Linked DNA regions of Homo sapiens: region 1 is linked to region 2. The links are contacts of gene promoters, found by promoter capture Hi-C in human tissues and cell types (Jung and others, 2019). All regions are on one chromosome and are shown on one strand. Each heading gives the region's core, a stretch centred on a gene start or on the middle of the fragment in contact. The rest is flanking DNA. Distances are from core to core; before and after follow the strand shown.

Region 1 (4,885 bases), core at 1,589-4,088, 150 kb before region 2:
TCACCTATAACAAGACAAAAGAATACTAACTAAAGAAAAGTAGGCTTATATAGGATTCTACAATGGAAAGAAGAAATAGAATGTTCTAAATAAAATATAATACACAAATTTTGGAAACACATCTAGAAGTTATTTTGTGTGTACTCCTAAACTTTATAAAAATCATTCTTATAATCCATGACCAGCTCACATGATGAATACCTGATAAATTATAAAAGAAAAACGCATAAGTAACAAGAAAATTAAAGGTGTAGCATGAGTATCACGCAAGTATAAACAAAAACTTTGCATGGGGAGATTCTAAATCGTAAGCCAGATTTTACAGAAATGAATTCAATGCAAAGCAGAGGGTATAGATTTGCTTTCAGCATTTTTGAGGTTTTCAGTTGTCTAGTAAATTAGTCACCTTTTAAAAATTATTAGTTTTGGCCGGGCGCGGTGGCTCACGCCTGTAATCCCAGCACTTTGGGTGGCCGAGGCGGGCGGATCACGAGGTCAGGAGATTAAGACCATCCTGGCTAATGCGGTGAAACCCTGTCTCTACTAAAAATACAAAAAAATTAGCCGGGCGTGGTGCTGGGCGCCTGTAGTCCCAGCAACTCGGGAGGCTGAGGCAGGAGAATGGCGTGAACCCGGGAAGCGGAGCTTGCAGTGAGCCGAGATCGCACCACTGCACTCCAAGCCTGGGCGACAGAGCAAGACTCCGTCTCGAAAAAAAAAAAGATTAGTTTTGTTCCAATATTGCTCGTCTTCTGAAAATAGGTACAAGCTAATACACAAACACACTTACTTGCTCCATAATTTTCTCATACCTAAGGTTCATTTTTAGAGTAATATATGTGTATAGTTAAGTGTATGTAAATCAAAACTAAAATGCTGTATGTTTGCAGGCAGAGAGGTCACATGTTCAAAGAAAAATATATAACATTTTTTAAATGTTTATTCAGAACTCAGAATTTTCTCATGGTTTATTTATACTTGTATATAATTTTTATTATAACCATAAAATGACCCTGTAGTAACGACTGTACATTCTAAAGTATCTAAAAGTGCAGAATTGGTTTGTAATACAAAGGAGAAATGCTGGAGTTGATGGATACATCTTTTGCCCTGATGTGATTAATACATAAAATTATATGCCTGTATCAAAATATGCCATACATGGCATAAAGATATACACATACTATGTATCCACAAAAATTAAGAGAAATAAGTTTAAATTTTAAAAAGAATAAAAATCTAACCTATGGGAACAATATTCTTTATTAGCAGTTTAAAGTCACTAGCAAAAATAATTATTAGAGATGTTAGCCCATTATGTTATCAAGTAGTATACTGTTACCCTCTTTTACCTAAACCCTTGAGTAATGTGGGATAGGTAAAGTCAGTGGCATGAAAACACTTCATTGAATGCACAATAGTTTTAACATGTTAAAAAAAGTTTAATTAAAAAACTAAGTTCACGCATAATCCAAAAATTTTTAAACACATTGCATTTTATTACATAAAAGTACAAATAGTAAAATGATATACTACTAATTCACTTTAATTTTAACTAAGATTAAAAATGGTTTTCTCTTACTATAATGCAGAAGAATATTGCTCTGAAAACCTACTTCATGGATCACTCAATATTATAAGTTAAACACAAACAGCCTCTTCACTCAGGTTTTCATCATGCATCTTACATTTTAATGTCCTTATTCTTTCATAGAAAGTGTCATAAATAATACCGACCTAACAGAAATGATTTCTCATATCTTTGATGCATGAAAAATTAATCACATGCTTTCACATGTGAATACAATAGGAATGAAGAGCATGAATTTGAGTTGAATTACATCATTTGCTTTTCAAAAACTAATTTTTCAAGAAAAAATATAATTTGAATGTAATTATACATCTACAAAAAAATTCTACTTCTTTTAAAGTTATATACACATTATTTACCTACCAACTTTAGTTTTAAATTATTTTCTATACTCAGCATTCTGATTCTATACTCAGCAATGTCTGAAGTGTCAGTACCTTAGATATTTCTACTGTGAATTCTCTGATATTTATATAGACTTAATTTTGGATTAAATTATTTTTATATTTACTTCACTTGCAAAAATATATTTTAGTATGAGGCCTCTGGTATTTTCTAAGCTGTAGTTTTTTAAAAAATGTTTTCACAAATGCATTACATTTACAGTGCTTTTCTCCAATATAAATTTTCTGGTGTTGAACAACATTTGAGCAACTGCTTCATGGTTTTCCTCTAGTGCAAAATGGGTACAAAAGTATCTGTGATACAAGTAAAGGTACTACAACCCTCTTCGTATTTGTATTGTTTGTCCTCACAATGAATACTCTTTTTTTGTTTTGTTTTTGAGACGAAGTTTTTGCTCTTGTTGCTTTGGCTGGAGTGTAGTGGTGTGATTTCAGCTCACTGCAATCTTCGCCTCCCAGGTTTGAGCAATTCTCCTGCTTCAGCCTCCCAATTAGCTGGGATTACAGGGGCCTGCCACCACACGCAGCTAATTTTTGTAAAATTTTTAATAGAGATGGGGTTTTGCTATGTTGGCCAGGCTGGTCTCAGACTCCTGCCCTCAGGTGATCCACCCACCTTGGCCTCCCAAAGTGCTGGCATTACAGATGTGAGCCAGCACAACTGGCTCCTCTTCTTCACTTTAAAGGCTTATATTTTCTGAAAGATCTCTTGACAAAAATTGCATTTATAATGCTTTTATTACGTACTAACTCTCTAATGTTGAGTAAAATCTGAGCAGATAATAATGGCTTTTCCACATTCCTTGTATTTGTACAATCTTTCTGAAGTATAAATGCTTTCCTGTGCAATAAGGGGTGAGCATTTATTAAAAGTGTTGCCACATTTTTTACACTTCCAGGAGTTTTCTTCAGTATGGATTCTTACCTACAATCAAGTGTGACAACCATTTAAAGGCTTTGTGATATTTTTCACATTTCTAGGATTTTTCACCAGTATGATTTATGTTAGAAAGTTCGAGGTGTTGTCAAAATTATTGTCACATCATTCAGGTTTGTAAAGTTTTCAGTATTATCTTATGTTTAGTGAGGTTTGAGGATTGGTTTAAAGTATTGCCACATTATTCACATTTGCAGGGTTTCTCTCAAAGTATAAACTGTCTTATATGTAGCAAGGTGTGAGGACCAGTTAAAGGCATTGCCACGTTTTTTACATTTGTAGGGTTTCTTTCCAGTATAAATACTCTTACATGTAGTAAGAGTTGAGAATCAGTTAAAAGCTTTGCCACAGACTTCACATTTGTAGGGTTTCTTTCCAGTATGAATTTTCTTATCTACAGTTAAGGGTTAAGGAAGGTTAAAAGCTTTGCCACATTCTTCACAATTGTAGGCTTTCTCTCCAGTATGAATTTCTGTATAGTAAGGTATGAGGATTGGTTAAAAGCTTTGCCACATTCTTCACAACTATAGAGTTCCTCTCCAGTATAAATTATCTTATGTGTAGAAAGGTGTGAGGACTGATTAAAGGCATTGCCACATTCTTCTCATTTGTATGGCTTTTCTCCAGTATGAATTACCTTATGTTTAGTAAAAGTTGAGGATCAGTTAAAGGATTTGCCACATTTTTCACATTTGTAGGATTCTCTCCAGTACGAATTTTCTCAACTTTCAGTAAGGTTTGAAGATTAGTTAAAAGCTGTGCCACATTCTTTACATTGTAAGGTTTCTCACCAGTATAAAATACCTCGTGTGTGCAGAAAAAGTTGAAGACTTGTTAAAGGCTTTAACACATTCTTCACATTTGTAGTTTCTCTCCAGTATGAATTTTCCTATGTGTAGTAAGCTTGTAGGATCAATTAAGTTTTGCCATACTCACATTTGTAGGGTTTCTCTCCAGTATGAATTTTCTTATGTGTAGTAAGATTTGAGGATAGGTTGAAAGCTCTGCCATAATCTCCACATTTGTAGGGTTTCTCTCCAGTATGAATTATCTTATGTATATTAAGAGATGAGAACTGGTTAAAGGATTTGCCACATTCTTCACATTTGTAGGGTTTCTCTGAAGTATGAATTTTCTTATGTGTAGTAAGGTTTGAGGATTGGTTAAAAGCTTTGCCACATTCTTCACATTTATAGGGTTTCTCTCCAGTATGAATTTTCTTATGTGCAGTAAGGGTTGAGGATAGGTTAAAAGCTTTGCCACATTCTTTACATTTGTAAGGTTTCTCTCCAGTATGAATTATCTTATGTCTATTAAGGGTTGAGGAGCAGTTAAAGGCTTTGCCACATTCTGCACATTGGTAAGGTTTCTCTCCCGTATGAATTCTCTTATGTATAGTTAGGTTTGAGAATCGGTTATAAGCTTTTCCACATTCTTCACATTTGTGGGGTTTCTCTCCAGTATAAATTATCTTATGGTTAGTAATGTTTGAGAATAGGTTAAAAGCTTTTCCATGTTCTTCAAATTTGTAGAGGTTCTCTCCAGTATGAATTATCTTTTGTGTAGTAAGGTTTGAGGACTGGTTAAAAACTTTGCCATGTTCTTCACATTTGTAGGGTTTCTCTCCAGTATGAATAATTTTATGTATAGTACGGTGTGAGGACTGTTTAAAGGCCTTGCCAAATTCTTCACATTTGTTGAGTTTCTCTTTAGTATGAACTATCTTATGTCTAGTAAGTTGATAGGATTGATTAAAGGCTTTTCCACATTCTTCACATTTATAGGGTTTTTCTCCAGTATGAATTCTCTTATGTTTAGTAAGGGTTGAGAATCGGTTAAAAGCTTTGCCACATTCCTCACATTTATAGGGTTTCTCTCCAGTATGAATTTTCTTATGTTCAGTAAGGTTTGAAGACTGGCTAAAAGCTCTGTCACATTCTTCACATTTGTAGG
Region 2 (4,758 bases), core at 1,408-3,907:
ATAGTGAAACCCAATCTGTACTGAAAATACAAAAATTATCTGGGCATGGTGGTGTGCGCTTGTGGCCCCAGCTACTCGGGGGGCTGAGGCAGGAGAATTGCTTGAATCTGGGAGGCAGAGGTTGCAGTGAGTCTAGATTACTCCACTGCACGCCAGCCTGGGTGACTGAGCAAGACTCCATCTCATAAATAAATAAATAAAGCAAATCTAACATAGAAGCATTTTTCATAGTTTTAATGCAGCCAACAATTGATCAAATGCTTTTCTATAAATGCTACAAATGAAGGCATAACATCAAGTGATTTGAGAGTTAAATTACCTCAACATTCATATTTTGAAAATTTAAAATTCTTTTCATGCAAAACAAGAAAAGTCAAATATAACTATAACGCCTCAAAAGATAAATCCTTGCTTCTTTTAGTCTTACACAAAAGTAAATGATATATTTTAACTTTGGATTACTCTGTATAATAAACACTGTTTAGAGTAATGTCTAAAATGTTAGTGTCTTAGAGTTTTCTACTGCGAATTACCTGATGATTACTTCTACTTGATTTCTAATTTTTTTTACATTTACTGAATTTGAAGAATATTATTTAATGTGAACACTCTGGTGTTTTCTAAGGTATACTTCTTAGAACAAATGGTTTTTCTCTATTTATTATATTATTCATAGGGTCTGTCTAAAATACAAATTTCCTAAAGTTGAAGAAAGTGTCAACAACTGATTGAGGGTTTCTCTCCAGTATAAATTCTCCTGTGTACAATAAGATATAAGTGAAGATATTAAACTCAACTTTTCAAAATCAGGAAATGTAACATTAAAAAATGAGGTGAATCTTAATAACATAAATAAAGTATACAATCACAAAAAACAGATACTGTCCGAATCCACTTACATGAGATAGCTAGAAACAGAAACCAAAATGATATTTTGAAAAAGATAAATAATAGGAAATTGGGCAGTTGTTTCAGGGGTATTGAGTTTTGTTTAGAAGATAAAAATGTTTTCCGAGCGTGGTGGCTCATGCCTGTAATCCCAGCACTTTGGGAGGCCAAGGTGGGCAGATCACCTGAGGTTGGGAGTTTGAGACAACCCTGACCAACATGGAGAAACCCCATCTCTACTAAAAATACAAAATTAGCCAGGTTTGGTGGCACATGCCTGTAATCCCAGCTATTCGGGAGGCTGAGGCACTAGAATCACTTGAACCCGGGAGGTAGAGGTTGCAGTGAGTTGAGATCACGCCATTGCACTCCAGCCTGGGTGACAAGAGCAAAACTCTGTCTCAAAAAAGAAAAAAAGAAAAAGAAAGACCAGGGAGGGATCTGTAGACATAGAGCATTCTTCTTCTGTGGCCCCATCGTCCTTTGTTCACTGTCTGATCTCTGGAAGAAAGGTGGGCAACAGGTGGTCTTCCTGTTGTTATTTTATTCCTGCTGTCCTCTGCTCTTTCTATGGCCACTATCTGTTCTACCCTTGGAACTGAAGAGAGATGTTGGTAGGGAAAGACTTTCCCCTTATTTATGGCAGGAAAAGGATGTTCAAGCCCAGTGTGGTGGCTCATGGCTGTAATCCCAGCACTTTGGGAGGATGAGACAGAAGGATTACTTAAGGTCAGGGGTTTGAGTCCAGCCTGGCTGACATGGCAAAATTCCATTTCTACTAAAAATACAAAAATAAGCCAGGCATGGTGGCACATGCCTGTAATCACAGCTACTCTGGGGAAAATAAGGCAGGAGAATTGCTTGAATCCGGAATGTGGAGATTGCAGTGAGCCGAGATTGCACCACTGCACTCCAGCCTGGACATAAGAGCAAGACTCTGTTTGAAAAGAAAAGAAGAGAAGAGAAAGGAAAAGAAAGAAAAGAAGAGAAGAGAAAGGAAATAAAAAGAAAGGAAGAAAAGAAAAGAAAAAAGAAAAGGGATGTTCAGGATTTCATCTTCTGCCATCAGAGCTGCACTTCAATGTGGCAGCTATTGGCCACCTGTGGCTACTGGGTGCATGGAATGTGGCTGGTCTGAACTGCGATGTGGTAGAAAGGTAAAATACATAGTTTTAATTTTTTTTCCAAAATATATATACTTTGTTAATAATTACATACTGGTCACATATTAAAATGATAATATTTTGGATATATTGGGTTAATTAAATTTCTACAATGAATTCCTCCTGTTTTTTTTTCTTTTTAAAATTTTCCTTCTAGAAAATTTAGAATTCACGTGGCTCACATTCAATTTCAGAGGACTGCCTTTTTAAAAAAAAATGTCAGGCTACCCGCTCAAAGGACAAGAAGCCAGGAGCTCATAAAATTGGAAAATTTTAAATAATTGTTATTGCATTATTTTCATGTGTGAATAGCCACATAATATATTATTTATAAAGGCATACGACCTTATACGCAGGGTTATATGCAAATACTCTCTGGTGTGAGCCTGGTCCGTTCAGGGAGGAAGCCCTTCCCTGAGAACCCTGCAGCTTGGATTTCACTCTTTCTACGTTCAGCCCAGCCGCTGAGCACATATTCTGTCACTCAGGGCATTAGGGGGTGGCGCCCTAAACATTATCCAATCAGGGACGCGGGGCTGGGACCCGTCCAATCAGGCACGCAGCTGGAGCGGACAGGACGGCTTCCGGGATTTGGCGGGGCCTTTGTCTCTAGCTGCTGCGGGAGCTCCAGGTCTAGTCTTTACTGCTCTGTGTATTCTGCTCCTAGAGGCCCAGCCTCTGTGACTCCGTTATCTGCAGGTATTGGGAGATGCACAGCTAAGATGCCAGGACCACCTGGAAGCCTAGAAATGGTGAGAGTGCGGTCCGACACCCCGAGAGAGGGGGAGGGGCTGGTTGGAACCGGTCGGAAGTGGCTGTGGCAGGACTCCAGGCTCCAAGCACTGGGCTCCAAAATCCGCGGCCCGAGTTGTCCTTGGCGCAGCTCGGTCCTCAGTCCCCTTCAGCCATAAGATGGCGGCTGGGCTGACAGCCGGACCCCGGGCGTCATGTCTCCTCCCTGCGCAGTGACTGTGCCTTGGCCTGGAGCCCTCGCTGGGCAGCTCTGCACCCGCAGTGCCGCATCTCTGCCGATAACTCGGGGTGCAGGGTTCATAAATGGGAAGCGCTTTGGTCCATGGGGTCCCAGTCCCTCCTTTTTTCTATTAAAAATTCATGGAAGTCACTGCAAATATATTTAAAAATGTAATAGAAGAGTGGTTCAAAAATCGTAGAGCACCCAGCTATGATTTGTAATTTGTGGTCCATGGGAGGGGCTTGAAGGAAAGACTTTTAAGTGGTGTATGATGAATAAAACCAAATTCAATAATCGGTTAGGTACAGTTACATAACTTCTTAATTTGTAAGATCAAAGTGGAAATTTTCTGGTTATGTAATCGGAGGGTACTTGGCAGTTTATAGTTGGTTAAGCAAGAATTTTATTTCCCCCAATGTAATACTTTACAAAAAACAATGTATTTGAGTTAGATTTTTTTTTTTTTTTTTTTGAAACGGAGTCTCGCTCTGTCGCCCAGGCTGAAGTGCAGTGGCACGATCTCGGCTCACTACAACCTCTGCCTCCCGGGTTCAAGTGATTCTCCTGTCTCAGCCTCCCGAGTAGCTGGGATTACAGGCGCCCGCCACCATGCCCGGCTAATTTTTGTATTTTTAGTAGAGACGGGTTTCACCATGTTGGACAGGCTGGTCTTGAACTCCTGACCTTGTGATCTGCCCGCCTCGGCCTCTCAAAGTGCTGGGATTACAGGCGTGAGCCACTGTGCCTAATGTAAATTTTTTTTTTTTTTGAGACGGAGTCTTGCTCTGTCGCCCAGGCTGGAGTGCAGTGGCGCGATCTCGGCTCACTGCAAGCTCCGCCTCCTGGGTTGACGCCATTCTCCTGCCTCAGCCTCCTGAGTAGCTGGGACTACAGGCGCCCGCCACCACGCCTGGCTAATTTTTTTGTATTTTTAGTAGGGACAGGGTTTCACCAAGTTAGCCAGGATGGTCTTGATCTCCTGACCTCGTAATCCACCCGCCTCGGCCTCCCAAAGTGCTGGGATTACAGGCGTCAGCCACCGCGCCCGGCCCTAGTGTACATTTTTGATACTATATTTTAATTAATCATTTTTTGAGAAATCATTGGATGGTACTTTTTAAAAGATTTGTTTTCCGTTTGTAAAAATTTTCTGTAAGAAGAAAGCAAAGAGTAATCCCTGGACACTATTGTAAAAAATCTCTGCGCCTCTTTTCCTTTTATCTTCCATAGGCACAGAGATCTTATCAGAATTTTGGGGGGTCACAGTTTCCCTTTGGAAACTTTATGGGGTGATGTGTCCTCGGCTACCCTTCAGATTTTTCCTGGTCCTGGGTTTCAGTACTGTCTGGGAATAAACCATGATACCCACCATGACTATGTCTGCTAGAGTGCCTAATGAATATCAGCTCCTGGGTCATTTTCTCCCACAGGACTGCCTGAGGTACAAAGTGTAGCCTCTCGAGGGAGCAGGTGGATGCCCTGGAGCTGAGAGAAATCTCCTGGTGCACTCTTCCTTGGAAAGGCTGACACCTTGAGACATTAAGATTGTCTTCACCCAACTCAGCTTCCGTTTCCTTGGGACACATTGCTGGTCAATCAGATGCTGGTATTGAGGGAAAAACATAGAAATAATTTCTGGATTCTCTAAGGGGGCAGAAAAATAGTGAAAAAAAATGATGAAAAAAGAGTGAAAGACAAATAGTGAAAAATTTGTAAAGGAAATTAAAAGGTAAA

What was found. Contacts are between HindIII fragments. The study calls those that stand out against the background at their distance.
Region 1: a fragment that was not itself captured here is called in contact with the fragment with the promoter of ZNF680 in region 2 in 2 of the 25 tissues and cell types used here (hippocampus and mesenchymal stem cells).

Annotation. Positions count from the first base shown.
Region 1 is chr7:64,707,620-64,712,504 of GRCh38, reverse strand. ZNF107 (zinc finger protein 107) reads right to left here. Exons shown (of 4, transcript NM_001282359.2): 4 at 928-4,885. The coding sequence ends at 3,849. Among named protein-coding and RNA genes, the nearest start is that of MIR6839, 31 kb to the right of the region's middle. The HindIII fragment of the contact is 5,049 bases long and covers 314-4,885 here.
Region 2 is chr7:64,560,970-64,565,727 of GRCh38, reverse strand. It overlaps ZNF680 (zinc finger protein 680), which reads left to right and starts at 2,657. Exons shown (of 4, transcript NM_178558.5): 1 at 2,657-2,803. The coding sequence starts at 2,774. RefSeq lists a silencer at 2,499-2,608 and an enhancer at 2,709-3,068. The HindIII fragment of the contact is 27,021 bases long and covers 1-4,758 here.